Regions from separate parts of the Homo sapiens genome. Here region 2 is linked to region 1. The links are contacts of gene promoters, found by promoter capture Hi-C in blood cells and fetal thymus (Javierre and others, 2016). All regions are on one chromosome and are shown on one strand. The core of a region is centred on a gene start or on the middle of the fragment in contact, and the rest is flanking DNA. Distances in the headings are between cores, read along the strand shown. Region 1 holds the start of NEXMIF (neurite extension and migration factor). Region 2 overlaps UPRT (uracil phosphoribosyltransferase homolog).

Evidence for each region. Contacts are between HindIII fragments. The CHiCAGO score rates a contact against its expected background, and 5 or more counts as called.
Region 2: a contact is called between a fragment that was not itself captured here and the fragment with the promoter of NEXMIF in region 1, in 1 of 17 cell types (naive CD4 T cells). The highest score is 5.9, in naive CD4 T cells.

What each region holds. Positions count from the first base shown.
Region 1 is chrX:74,924,065-74,930,710 of GRCh38, forward strand. It overlaps NEXMIF (neurite extension and migration factor), which reads right to left and starts at 1,388. Exons shown (of 4, transcript NM_001008537.3): 1 at 819-1,388. RefSeq lists a silencer at 267-426. The HindIII fragment of the contact is 8,655 bases long and covers 1-6,646 here.
Region 2 is chrX:75,276,543-75,283,188 of GRCh38, forward strand. All of the region lies in intron 1 of UPRT (uracil phosphoribosyltransferase homolog), which reads left to right. Among named protein-coding and RNA genes, the nearest start is that of UPRT, 5.8 kb to the left of the region's middle. The HindIII fragment of the contact is 3,451 bases long and covers 1-3,087 here.

The sequences.
Region 1 (6,646 bases), core at 138-2,637:
GCTGAAATCGCTGAATTCCTCAGCGGAACGGCGCCAACTCAGCAGCGCGGTTTCCACACTTTCCCGGAGCGGGACTCCGCTCCCCGCGCCGGCTCACGGCCTTCCCGCCCTACAGGGTGTACAAGACGCGAGCCGACGTGTGCTGCGGGGCGCGGCAGAGAGAAGCGCCAGAAGCCACACAGAAAAGCGTCAATTCGACCGCCACCGAGAGCGCGAAGGGGCCACAAGCCAATTTCCGCAAAGGAGATGAGCTGGGCGAGGCTCGGTCTGGCCTCCAACTTAAACCTGTCCGCAGCCTCGGCCGAGTGGCGCGTGTCCTGGGGGCGCTCTGTGGTCGCCACGGCCGCCCGGCTTCGCACCTTTGCGGCTTTGGTCCGAGCGCCCGGCCTCGGCCGCCGCGTGGGTTTTCCCGCTCTCGCCGAAGCGTGCCATGCCCATGCCCCATTCCCTGGCCAGGCTCTACCCTGCACCAGTCCGAAAGGAGGCGGCACTCTGCCGAGCTGCGTGCGTGTAAGCGCGGCGGCTCCGGTCCGCTCGCTTCCCCTCCCCCCGCAACCCCCTTCCTACGGCGCAAGCACAGAGGCCTTTCCTAGATTGCAGTGCCTGTCAGGGCGAGCCGGGATCTCTCGCCCTAGCGGCCTCGCTCCCTCATACACAGACACACACATTCGCATACAGACGTCCTCCGTTCCGTTTTCCCTTCCTTCTCGTCTAGCTCGACTTACCCCAGTTCATTCCACCCCCTGCGGCCGCCACCCCGAGCCAGCCGGGGAGCCGGCGAGAAGGCCAGGAAGCTGTATGGCAGCGCTCCTACTCACCTCACAGGCCGACTCCCGAGGCGCACGTCGCTGGCGGGCTCAGGCAGCAGGCGCTGTAGCTAGCGCGGTCGCAGTCAAGGCTGGGCTGTCGCCGTCGCCGCAGCTGTTCGAGCTGCCTTAGCCGCCACCGCCGCTGCTACTGCTGCCGCCGCCGCCGCCGCCTCTGCCTCAGCTCCATACGCTGGGCCCGCCAGGTGGACGCGCCTCTCTCCTCGCTCGCTCCCTCAGGCTCCGCCGCCGCCGCGCTAGATGGAGTCAGAGCTGTCGGGCTCTGGCCCTGAAACTCAGAGCCTCCGCGGCTGCCCGGCTGCTCCAAGGGTCCGTGCTTCGCTTACACTGTCGCTCGCCCCGGCTGGAGCTACCTAGCGAGCGGGCTGCGCGCTCGGCGCCTGGAGCCCGCTCTGTGCGGTGGCTGCGGCCGTCCGCGAGAGGGAGAGAGGAGGGCGGCTGCTACTGTCGCTATAGCTGTTAAAGCTATTGCTAAATGCTGCTACTGCCGCTAATGCTACTGCTGTGGCGGCGGTGGTGGCGGCGGCGGCTGCTGCTGCTGCTGCTGATGCTACTGGTTTTCCTTCCCAGGTTCTTCCCCTGCCTCGTCCCCCCTCCTCCCCCTTCCTCCTCCTCCTCCTACTCCTCCTCCTCCTTCTCTTCCTCCTCCCTCTTCTCCTCCCTCTGCCGCTTTTCTCAGAGCCTCTGCAGGCACTGCCTGGTCCCCTCTTCTCCCGGAGCTGTCTCTGCCCATTCAGAAAGGTGCCCAGAGTGGGGCCGCCTCTGCTGCCACCATCGCTGTTGCCCCTGCCATTGTTTCCTCCAACACGGCTGTTCTTGCTGGACGCCTTCCCCCCTCTACCCTTCTTCCCCACCACAGCTCTCCCTTTCCCTCCCGCTCTCCTTACCCTCTCTATGGTCCCTTCCTTATGTGCCCCCCCAACTCTGTCCGTCTGTCCTTCCCTCCCCTCGGGCGCCCGGGAGCGCGCACTGCGCGGCCACCTGTCATAAAGGGCGCGCACCCCCCTTCCCCATTCCCACCCCGCCCCCCACTCGCGTTCCTGCTGCCCTTCCAGTCCACTACGCCAGTGGTGCGTTCTTCCCCTGGCAGACACGCAACCGGACACCACTCTCCCATGCCTTTTAGGGCAGTTGTGTGTGCGGAGAGGGGCACTCTGAAGTTTGGGGAAGAATATTTGAATGGTTTCATCCACCAAGCATCTAACCATTCAACCTTTACCTACTCTTAACTTAAGGGCCTGGGCCCCCAGGAAGGTGGGTCCTTTTTGAAGGGTTGGATGAAGGCAGACAATTGGGGAGTGACGTTTGGGGAATAAAGGAAAGAAGGGAAGCTGAATATGGCCAGGAAGGAAAACAGATCTGCCTGATGGCTGTCATTGAAAAATCTCTTAGGTGGTCATTTTCCTTCAGACGTCCTGGGAACTCAACAGGAAACAGCAAAACGATTGGAGAGCAACTCAGGAGGGACCATTTAGTACTTCTGGAGTCCTGGGTGCAAGGTTGAGGCCTGAGCCTCGGGAGATTTGTCACCACTAGGAGCCAAGGCAAGAGATGAAAAGGTTGGTACTAGAACAGAAGGGGTAAAAGTAGCTACTTTGTGTGCACTTGCTCCAACATCATTGCCAAAGCACAGCTTCTCCAGTCAGGCAGGGCCTCATTTCAGATTTCTTTGCTGCCACAGCTACAGCGTCATTTTGCTACGAGGGCTCAGGCTTTGAGATCTGATGTGTGCAACTTCTCACCATCACCTGTCACACAATCCCTCCCCAGAAACAGTGCAGAGGCGGGGGTATATTTTCTTTTCCCTGGCAAAGTACAGGAGATAAATGTTCCAGATATCCCATTGACAATAAGGTCTGGGTCACTTTACCAAGTTTGAGGCGCTCTACCATGGGTCTTTCATTCCTGGACAATAAACTGTCTGTATGGCTTTTACAACTCCCCATCTCTGTGCCTTTGTTTCTGTCATCCCACTTGCTTGAAACACTCTTGTTATTTCTCCCTCTCATTTTATATCTATGAAACTCATCCATAAATAATAGCTCATCCTGAAATAATTATACTTATTGGGTCCTTACTATGTGCCAGACACTGTGCTAAGCAATTTACATGAATTATTTAATCTTCACAACAAACACAATTTTACTATCTCCATTTTACAAATGAGAAAATCGAGTCACAAGGAAGTTAGGTATATGTGTCCTGAGGATAGGGATGATATGTTATTTATCTTGCATTTGTGAGACACTGTGCAAATATATTTGCATCTTTCAGGCACTGGAATAAATAAGAAGACAAAATTTGGCCTCTGTTCTCAAAAGCAAAAACAAACAAACAAAAAAGGTTAAACATGTAAAATGCCACCCATCTATTGGCTGGATCTCAATATCCAGAATGAATTGCTCTTTTTCCGTTGTCGGAAAGCACATTGTTTTCACCTGTATTAACTACATATGCTATTCTTCCTTTATAAAGTTAGTTGCTTATTTGTTACCAGTTATAATTTTTGTCAATGCCCTCCAGCCAAAAACTACCAGAAACACAACTGTAGTTGAACAATTTGGGTTTACTACTTGTTAGAGTGAGGGAGAACACACACCATGGGTGTTATGGGCTGATTTGCATTTCCCCAAAAATTCATATGTTGAAGCTCTGACTATTCCCAGTACCCCAGAATGTGACTGCTTGGAGATAGGGCCTTTGCAGAGGATACTAAGTTAAAATAAGGCCTTGAGAATGGGCCCTAATCTAATATGACTGAGGTCCTTATAAGAGGAGAAAATTAGGACACAGACAACACAAAAAGGCCATCTGCAAGCCAAGGAGATGGTGATCTCAGGAGAAACCAGACCTACTGACACCTTCATCTTGGACTTTTAACCTCCAGAACTGTGAGAAAATAAATCTCAGTTGTTTTAATCACTCAGTCTGTAATATTTTGTTATGGCAGCCAGAGCGAACTAATAAAACAGGAAATCATGGGGTGTCTCAGATAAAAGGTGGTAGAAAGGACTTATAGGATTTGGATTTTGGTTGGGTAATTGGGGGAGGGTTTAAGAAAGTGGGAATTAATTCTACATTGAATGCTCTCAGAAAGCAAGGGCAATTCTGTGACTGGGCATCTTAATAAATCTTATCTATTGGGAGGTAGACTAAAGTGGAGATAAGGCTTTTGTGGGTTTTTTGTCTGTGCTTAGACAAAATTATGAAGAGGCCTTGTTTTGTTTCATTTTGTCATGTTCTCAGTGTAACATTGTCTGATGTCAGTATTTTGTGAGAGTGTTTATGTCCATCAGGAGACCAGCCATGGCCTACCTGTGAGTGCCAGGTCATCTTCCAGGTGGCTTTTCTTCTTCTTTAAGACAGGTTTAAGTGTGACTACTTAACAATGTCCATTAGTTGTGTGGCTTTGGGCAAGTTACTTTACTTGTCTGTGCTTCAGTTTCCTCATTTATATTAATAATTGAGAAAAAAAATTGTGTTAACCATGGAGTTGTTATGGGAACTAAATGAAGGAATAAATATAATGTCCTCAGAACACTGCTTGGCACATAGGCAGCCTTCACTGAATGTGAGTTATTATCCATGTCTGTTTTCTCCAACAGACCATATAGCTTAAATTGCATATTATTATAGTTATATATTGGTACTTTCTCCTTTGCTAGGCCATGAGCTCCTTGAGGGCAGGGACAACGTGTACTGGCATGGTGATAATAGCTAACTTTTACTGAATGTTTTCAATGGGCCAGGCACAGATATTAACTGTAGTTACTCCATGAAAACTTTTGAGGGCCCATCCCTACCTTTAGACTAGCCTGGGCATTCTCTCTGTGCTCCCATAGCATTTGGGTTTACTGTAATCATTACACTTAGTATATGATACTGACACTGTCTGCTTATGTGTCTTCTTCCCTTTCTAGACTGTTCATTTATGAAGAGTAGAGCAGATACCTTCAACTTTGATGTCCATGTCTGAGCACAGTGCCCAGAACAACAGAGGCACTCAATATAAAAACACTGATTGGATTTTCAGTACGTTCTTTGCTTCTTCTAGAGCGGAACTCAAATCAGGCCTATCTTAGCCTCCATCATCCCTTTCCCTGGGGTTTTATTGTCTAAAAACATAACAGAGAATCTCAAATAGAGTGGTCCTCCCTGTAAGGCAGATCTAAAGAAGAGAATCACTGTGAGACTTCAATTCAAGAAGGTGCCATTTGGGAATAATTGGTCTCTGCTATTTAACAGTCAATGGTAGCATATCCATTAGACCAAAGGGGGGTAATGAAGTATGAGACCTGAACCTAGAATCTTGGGTGTTAACCTTAATTCAGCCATAAACAAACTGTGTGATGTTTAGAAAATTACCAAACCTCTCTGAACCATAGTTTTTCCATAGGGGGCATGGAGAACATAATCTCTCCACTGGCTAATAGATTAGATAACAAAGATTAAAGAGAGTTTACTGGAGTTTCTCTTTGGGAAAAACATTTCATTCCTCCATTACTTCCATGTTACATGCCTGCAAGATTCTCAGCCTCTGTAACTGGTATCATAAAATGGCTACATTCTTTCAGATGCCAGCCAAAAGCCAAGGGAGTTGTGGTTTTTGGCTTGCCATATCACCTCCCTATCGGCCCCACAACTCAGCCTGCTCCCAAAGAAGGGAGCTACAGTGTCTGTATATTTCTGGGGCATAACAGATGTTGACATTCTGGAGATAGATCCAGAAAGTTTCTTTCTATCATGCTGAGGCCAGACACAGGATGTCTTTCAGCCCAAACGTATGTTTTTAGCCCAGAAGGATAAAAGAAGGTGAATGACAGAAATAACATTATTATGGTATCATATGCATATACAAAAACTAGCATATTACTTATGAAAGAAACTACCATATTACTTTTCATATAATGTACCACTATTGTGCCCAGATACTATATAGTAATTATACTAATGGCCTCTGGCTGGGAGTTTATGGTGGCTTTCCCTGGTGAATTTCAAAGAATGGCCCAAAGGAACTGAAAGGAGGTTACAGAACTGAGAGGTCAACGAATCAAAATCAAAACAAGCATCGGCTGTTCCTCTTGTTTGAGGGGCAGCACCCAGGGCTCCATTTAAATACAGTGGAACTGACAAGCTGGCTCAATAATTCTCTCTTTTGTCCTAAACAGTATTAGAAAACTATAGCTTTCCTGACAATAGACAGATGTCTCATTTTTTCCCCTTACAGCAGCCCTTGGAGGGGTAAGGGGATCCCTATTCTATGAATTATTCGGCTAGTGTTTGATTTAGGCCCTGTATTAGGTCTCAGGAGGAGAAAACAGAGACAATTAAAGACACTTTTTTTTTTTTTTTTTTGCCTCAAAGGACTTTATAGTCTAGAAGGGGAAATGGAAACACAGGAAGGCAACACTCTCAGGCTGTGCAGATTCAGGGCTGAAAGAGAGGTGAGAAAAAGGGCTTCAGGATACCAAAGGAGTTTGGGAGTCCCTGAGCCTGCCCCAGGAGTGGTAGCCCGGGAAGAGAAGTATGACTGTACTAGGCAGTAAGGAGAAGAGCATATCAAGCATGAGGAAGAGCATGAGCTGAGGAAGTGCTGAGGCAGGATGATGAGCAATGTGTTTGGGAGTCGGTTGACATGTACAGCATGTCTGGAGCCAAGGGCTTGTTCAGTGGAGCAAGCAAAATTTGGAGGGGTTGGATGGGGCCACACATGAACGGCTTTGGAACTCTAGGATATATTAACCTTAAATTCTCACTCCGTACTTTATAAATGTGGAAAAGAAAGGTCATGGTCACACGGTAGATAGGTAGATATCTGA
Region 2 (6,646 bases), core at 112-2,611, 350 kb after region 1:
TTACATATACAACAAAGAAAAATAGATGATGATTCTTGTTTCTATAGAGCAGAAGTTACTACGCTTGGGTCTTCGACTCCCTCGTACCAGTAGATGGGTTCAGGGCTTTAACAAACCCTCATAAATTAACTGGGAAATTTTACTCATATGAAGATTTTTAATAGTTGTTTTTAAATAACATCTTTATTGAGATATAATTCACAGACCATACAGTTCAAGAATTTAAAGTGTATAATTCAGTGGTTTTAAGTATGTTCACAGCTGTGCATTCATCACCACAGTTTTAGAACATTTGTCATCACCCCAGCAAGAAACCTCATGCCCATTAAACAGTCACTCCCCATTTTCACCCAACCCACCCAAAGCCCTAGACAATCATTAATCTACTTTCTATTTCTAATGGTTTGCCCATTCTGCACATTACATATAAAAAATGTCTATTCTGGACATTTCATTATCATACAATATGTGGTCATTTTGTGACTCATTTCATTTAGCATGTTTTCAAGGTTCATCCGTGTGGGATCTTTCCTTTTTATGATTAAATGATACTCCATTATATGAATATACCACAATTTGTTTATCCATCAGTTGGTGAACATTTGGGTGGTTTACCACTCTTTGGCTATTATGAATAATGCTGCTATGAACATTCACATATGTGCCTTTTTTTTTAGAGGGTGAGGATTCCTTAGTTTTTTAGATTTCACAAAGTGTCATGATAATGTAAAGGTGAAGTGCCCTTGCTATAGCGCTTGGAGAGGGAATGGCATTTAGCATTCACATATGACAAAATAATACCTGATTATATGTCATTAGTCAGAAAAACCTGGGTTATGTAGTAAACCTGGGTGTAAGTGGAATCCTTTTTTTTTTTTCCTCTAAGTTTGGAAGGAGACAGCAGGATCCAGAGAAGTGATTTAGGCAATATGTTTAGCATCTCTGTGCTTCACCTTTATCATTTGTAAAATGAAGATGTTGGTAAATATCACATGGAGCCCCTGGGAGGCTAAAACAAGATACTGTTCATGAATATTCATTATGAACTGTGAAGAGCTGTTCACATTTAAGGAATTTCAAGCCTCATGTTTGGATTTGTGCATGCTTCTAATTGCATTCATAAGTGCTGTCTTCTTGATTTGTCAGAAGACAGTAAAATGAATTTAACTCTATGTGGAATTCACTTTTTTATCTTGAAAATGAATACTGGGATATTGTAGATAATTTTTATCTTGTTTTGATATAGTATGGAAAGACCCACCACAATTTTTAGTAATGTATTGCTGCTTATTTAGGCTGGGGACATTGTTTTTAGTTTTGTTTTTGTTAACCAAATTAGAGGCTTTATATTCCCTTTATCTTTAAAAAATTGTCATCCTCTCTCACAAGACCTGTTTTAGCCCCTCTAGGAGGCTGGTTTAAGGTGCCTATGGTAAGAGGAGCTATATTTACATAGGTCTAGTTATGGAAGGTGCCATCAGTTATCATACCCTGTTCTCTTTGGGGCTTATTCTCTTCTCTATTTTGATGTGACAGCATAAATGTGCACTGTGGAACTGTCCGATAATAGAAGCCACTGGAGTACATATTTTTTCTTTTATTGTTTCTGGTCCTTAGCATCTATATAGTGAAGGGATTGCTTTGTGAATTGACTTTGGTATGGGGAAATCGGGATTGAGCCAGCAGGACTGCATGTTGTTGTATATATGTGAAACAGGCAAGATTGAGAACATTGTCTGTATTGATTTAAAATGTCTTTTTAGATTTTGAAATGTGCAATATTTGAAACATAATATGTTGGTTGTATTATTGAATTTCAAGGAAATAAATTTCTCTCTTTGAAAGTGCAGTAAACACTGAGTAGATTATTTGCTCAGCCATACGTATGTGGGTTGCTGGTGAACTTGGGATAAGAAAAAATTTCTTCATTTATGTCGTTTTGTTGTTGTTGCAATGGATTAAACCACACATCCTTCTCTTCTGCCTCCTTTATATACTAAACTCAGCAAAATCTGAGTAATGTGCTTTTCCTGTGAATATAGTTCATGACCTCATATTTAAAGGCAATGCAGTGTATTTAAAAGATCATCCTCCCTGTCCAGTTTTTTGTTTTTTATTTTTTGTTTCCTGAAACATTAAAGCTGTTGTGTGAGCTGTTGAATGCTTCCTGTGTATTTGTCCTAGGTGGGGCTTTGGCATGGCCTCAGCAAGCTGCTTGTTTAAAAGTTTAGCAATGTTAGAGTATGTCAGTATGTGACATAGGACAAAAAAAGGAGCACATTCAGCCTTGTGACTCTCTTTAGTCACCTGGAGGGGAGAAAATTATCCTTAGGGTGAATGAACATCCTGTGTAACCCTAATGTGAGTGCAATCTAATGTGATTTGAGTTATGTGACTAAGTAATGTATTGTCCTTAACCAAAGCTGTGTGCATCAGAATTGCCTGTGGAGTCTCTCTCTCTTTTTTTAAAATACAAGTTCCTGACTCCCATCCTTAGCAGTTGTTTGTATAGTCTTGAGTAAAACCTGACCACAGGTAATTGTGCTGTGTTTAGACTGGGCCATTGCCCCTGGGAGAATGGCCAGTCTCCCTTGTGTGCTGATTTGCTAGCCTGCTGATTCGGGCTATAGATATGGTGATCCAGGGATTCCACACACTAAACAGAACTAGGCTAGAGAGCCTGACCTAGCATTACATCAACACTGGAGGAATCTCCCAACATTTCCTTCCAGCTTGCACAAAACCAAAATGCCCACCGCAGAAAAAAACTGTGACGTGCAAATTGTTTAAAACATGGACATATTTTCGGTTTTTGTGTGTTTCCCGTGTGAGTCCTCTGACTTTTAGAGCAGGAAGGAGGAAGTCACCACTAAGCTATACGGACCTCTGTTATAACATTTACTGGGCATATCCTGGTATACCTAACTAGACTGGACTCCAAGGAGGCAGAAAGGGGGTCTGACCTGGCACAGTCCCTGACACAAAGGATAATTAATGTAGCAATTGTAATCAGATAAAATGATAGTTTCCCTTGTTTTTCTGTCCCATTTTTTTGCAATAATTTCAACATTTGTTTTATTTTTTTAAAGCTTTCAGGTTTCACTTATTTATTTTTTTCCATAAGTTATTGGGGTACAGGTGGTATTTGATTACATGAGTAAGTTCTTTAGTGGTGATTTATGAGATTTTGGTGCACCCATCACCCAAGCAGTATACACTGCATCATATTTGTAGTCTTTTATCCCTTGACCCCCTCCCACCCTTTCCTCCCAAGTTGCTAAAGTCCATTATATTATTCTTATATCTTTGCATCCTCATAGCTTAGCTGCCACATACTAGTGAGAACATATGATGTTTAGTTTTCCATTCATGAGTTACATCACTTAGAATAGTAATCTCTAATCTCATCCAGGTCACTGCAAATGCTGTTAATTCATTTTTTTAATGGCTGACTAGTATTCCATCATATATATATATTTGATATGTATTCCATCATATATATATATTTGTTGGCCATTTGTATATCTTCTTTTGAGAATTGTCTATTCATGTCCTTAGCCCACTTTTTGATGGGATTGTTTGTTTTTTTTTTTCTTGCTGATTTGTTTGAGTTCCTCGTAGATTCTGGATATTAGTCCTTTGTCAGATGTATAGATTGTGAAGATTTTCTCCCACTATATGGGTTGTCTGTTTACTCTGCTGACTGTTTCTTTTGCTGTGCAAAAGCTCTTTAGTTTAATTAAGTCCCAGCTATTTATCTTTGTTTTTATTGCATTTGCTTTTGTGTTCCTGGTCATGAAATCTTTGGCTAAGCCAATGTATGTAAGCCAAAGTTATCTTCTAGAATTTTTATAGTTTCAGGTCTTAGATTTCAGCCCTTAATCCATCTTGAGTTGATTTTTGTATAAGGTGAGAGATGAGGATCCAGTTTCATTCTCCTACATGTGGTTAGCCAATTATCCCAGCAACATTAGTTGAAAAGGGTGTCCTTTCCCCACTTCATATTTTTGTTTGCTTTGTCGAAGATCAGTTGGCTATAAGTATTTGGGTTTATTTCTGAGTTCTCTGTTCTGTTCCATTGGTCTTTGTGCCTATTTTTGTACCAGTGCCATGCTGTTTTGATGACTGTGGCCTTATAGTATAGTTTGAAATCAGGTAGTGTGACACTTCCAGGTTTGTTCTTTCTGCTTAGTCTTGCTTTGGCTGTGTGGGGTCTTTTGTGGTTCCATATGAATTTTAGAATTGTTTTTTCTAATTCTGTGAAGAATGATGGTGGTATTTTGATGGGAATTGCATTGAATTTGTAGATTGCTTTTGGCAGTATGATCATTTTCACAATATTGACTCTACCCATCCATGAGCATGGGATGTGTTTCCATTCATTTGTGTCATCTATTATTTCTTTCAGCAGTGTTTTGAAGTTTTACTTGTAGAGGTCTTTCAACTCCTTAGGTAAATTCCTAAGGATTTTATTTTTTTTGGCAGCTATTGTAGAGGGTTGAGTTCTTGATTTGATTCTCAGCTTGGGTACTGTTTGTGTATAGAAGAGCTACTGATTTGTGTACATTAATCTTGTATCCAGAAACTGCTGAATTCTTTTATCAGTTCTAGGAGCTTTCTGGAGGAGCCTTTAGGGTTTTCAAGGTAAAAGATCATATCCTCAGCAAACAGTGACAGTCTGACTTCCACTTTATCAATTTGGATGCCCCTTATTTCTTTCTCTTGTCTGATTGCTCTGGCTAGGACCTCCAGTACTATGTTGAAGAGGAATGGTGAGGGTGGCATCCTTGTCTTGTTCCAGTTCTTAGAGTGAATGCTTTGAACTTTTCCCCATTTAGTATTATGTTGTCTGTGGGTTTGTCATAGATGGCTTTTATTACATTAAGTTGTGTCCTTTCTATGCTGATTTTGCTGAGAGTTTTAATCATGGAGGTATGCTGCATTTTGTTGAATGCTTTTTCTGCATCTATTGAGATGATCCTGTGATGTTTGTTTTTAATTCTGTTTATGTGGTGTGTCACATTTATTGACTTGCATACATTAAACCATCCCTGCATCCCTGATATGAAACCCACTTGATCATGGTGGATTATCTTTTTGATGTGCTGTTGGAATTGGTTAGCTAGTATTTTGTTAAGGATTTTAGCATCTATGTTCATCAAGGATATCAGTCTGTAGTTTTCTTTTTTGGTCATATCCTTCCCTGGTTTTGCTATCAGGGTGATGCTGGCTTCATAGAATGAATTAGGGAGCATTCCCTCTTTCTCTGTCTTGTGGAATAGTGTCAAAAGGAATGTTTTCAATTCTTCTTTGAATGTCTCATAGAAGTCTTCTGTGAATCTATCTGATCCTGGACTTTTTTTTTGTTGGTAATTTTTAAATTACCATTTCAGTCTTGCTGGTTGTTATTGGTCTGTTCAGGGTATCAAATTTTTCCTGATTTAAGCAAGGAGGGTTGTATTTTTTTCAGGAATTTATCCATCTCTTCTGGGTTTTCTAGTTTATGTGTGTAAGGGTGTTCATAGTAGCCTTGAATGATCTTTTGTATTTCTCTGGTGTCAGTTGTAATATCTCCTGTTTCATTTCTTAGTGAGGTCATTTGGATTTTCTCTCTTCTTGGTTAATCTTGCTAATAGTCTATTAATTTAATTTATCTTTTCAAAGAACCAGCTTTTTGTTTCATTTATCTTATATTTTTTTTTTTGCTTCAATTTCACTTAGTTCTGCTCTGATCTTGGTTATTTCCTTTCTTCTGCTGGATTTGGGTTTGGTTTGTTCTTGTTTCTCTAGTTCCTTGAGGTGTGACCTTAGAATGTCAGTTTGTGTTCTTTCAGTCTTTTTGATGTAGGTGTTTAGGGCTGTGAACTTCCCTCTTAGCACTGCCTTTGCTGTATGCCAGAGGTTTTGGGAGGTTGTGTCATTATTTGGGAGGTATGTGTCATTCAGTTTGAAGAATTTTTAAATTTCCATCTTGATTTTGTTTTTGACCCAGTGATCATTCAGGAACAGGTTATTTAATTTCATGTATTTGCATGATTTTGAAGGTTACTTTTGGAGTTGATTTCCAGTTTTATTCCACTGCGGTCTGAGAGAGTGCTTGATATAATTTCAGTTTTCTTAAATTTATTCAGGCTTGTTTTATGGCCTATCATATGGTATGTCTTGGAGAAAGTTCCATGCACTGTTGAATAGAATATGTATTCTGCAGTTGTTGGACGAAATGTTCTGTATGTATCTGTTAAGTCAATTTGTTCCGAGGTATAGTTTAAATCCATTGTTTCTTTGTTGACCTTCTGTCTTGATGACCTGTCTAGTGCTGTCAGTGGAGTACTGAAGTCCCCCACTGTTATTGTGTTGTTGTCTAACTCATTTCTTAGGTCTGTTAGTAATTGTTTTATAAATTTGGGAGGTCCTATGTTAGGTGCATATATGTTTAAGATTGTGATAGTTTTCCATTGGACAAGGCTTTTCACCATTATATAATGTCCCTCTTTGTCTTTGTTAACTGCTGTTGCTTTCAAGTTTGTTTCTTCTGATATAACAACAGCTACTCCAGCTCGGTTTTGGTGTCCATTTGCATGAAGTGTCTCTTTCCACTTCTTTACCTTACGTTTGTGTGAGTCCTCATGTGTTAGGTGAGTCTCCT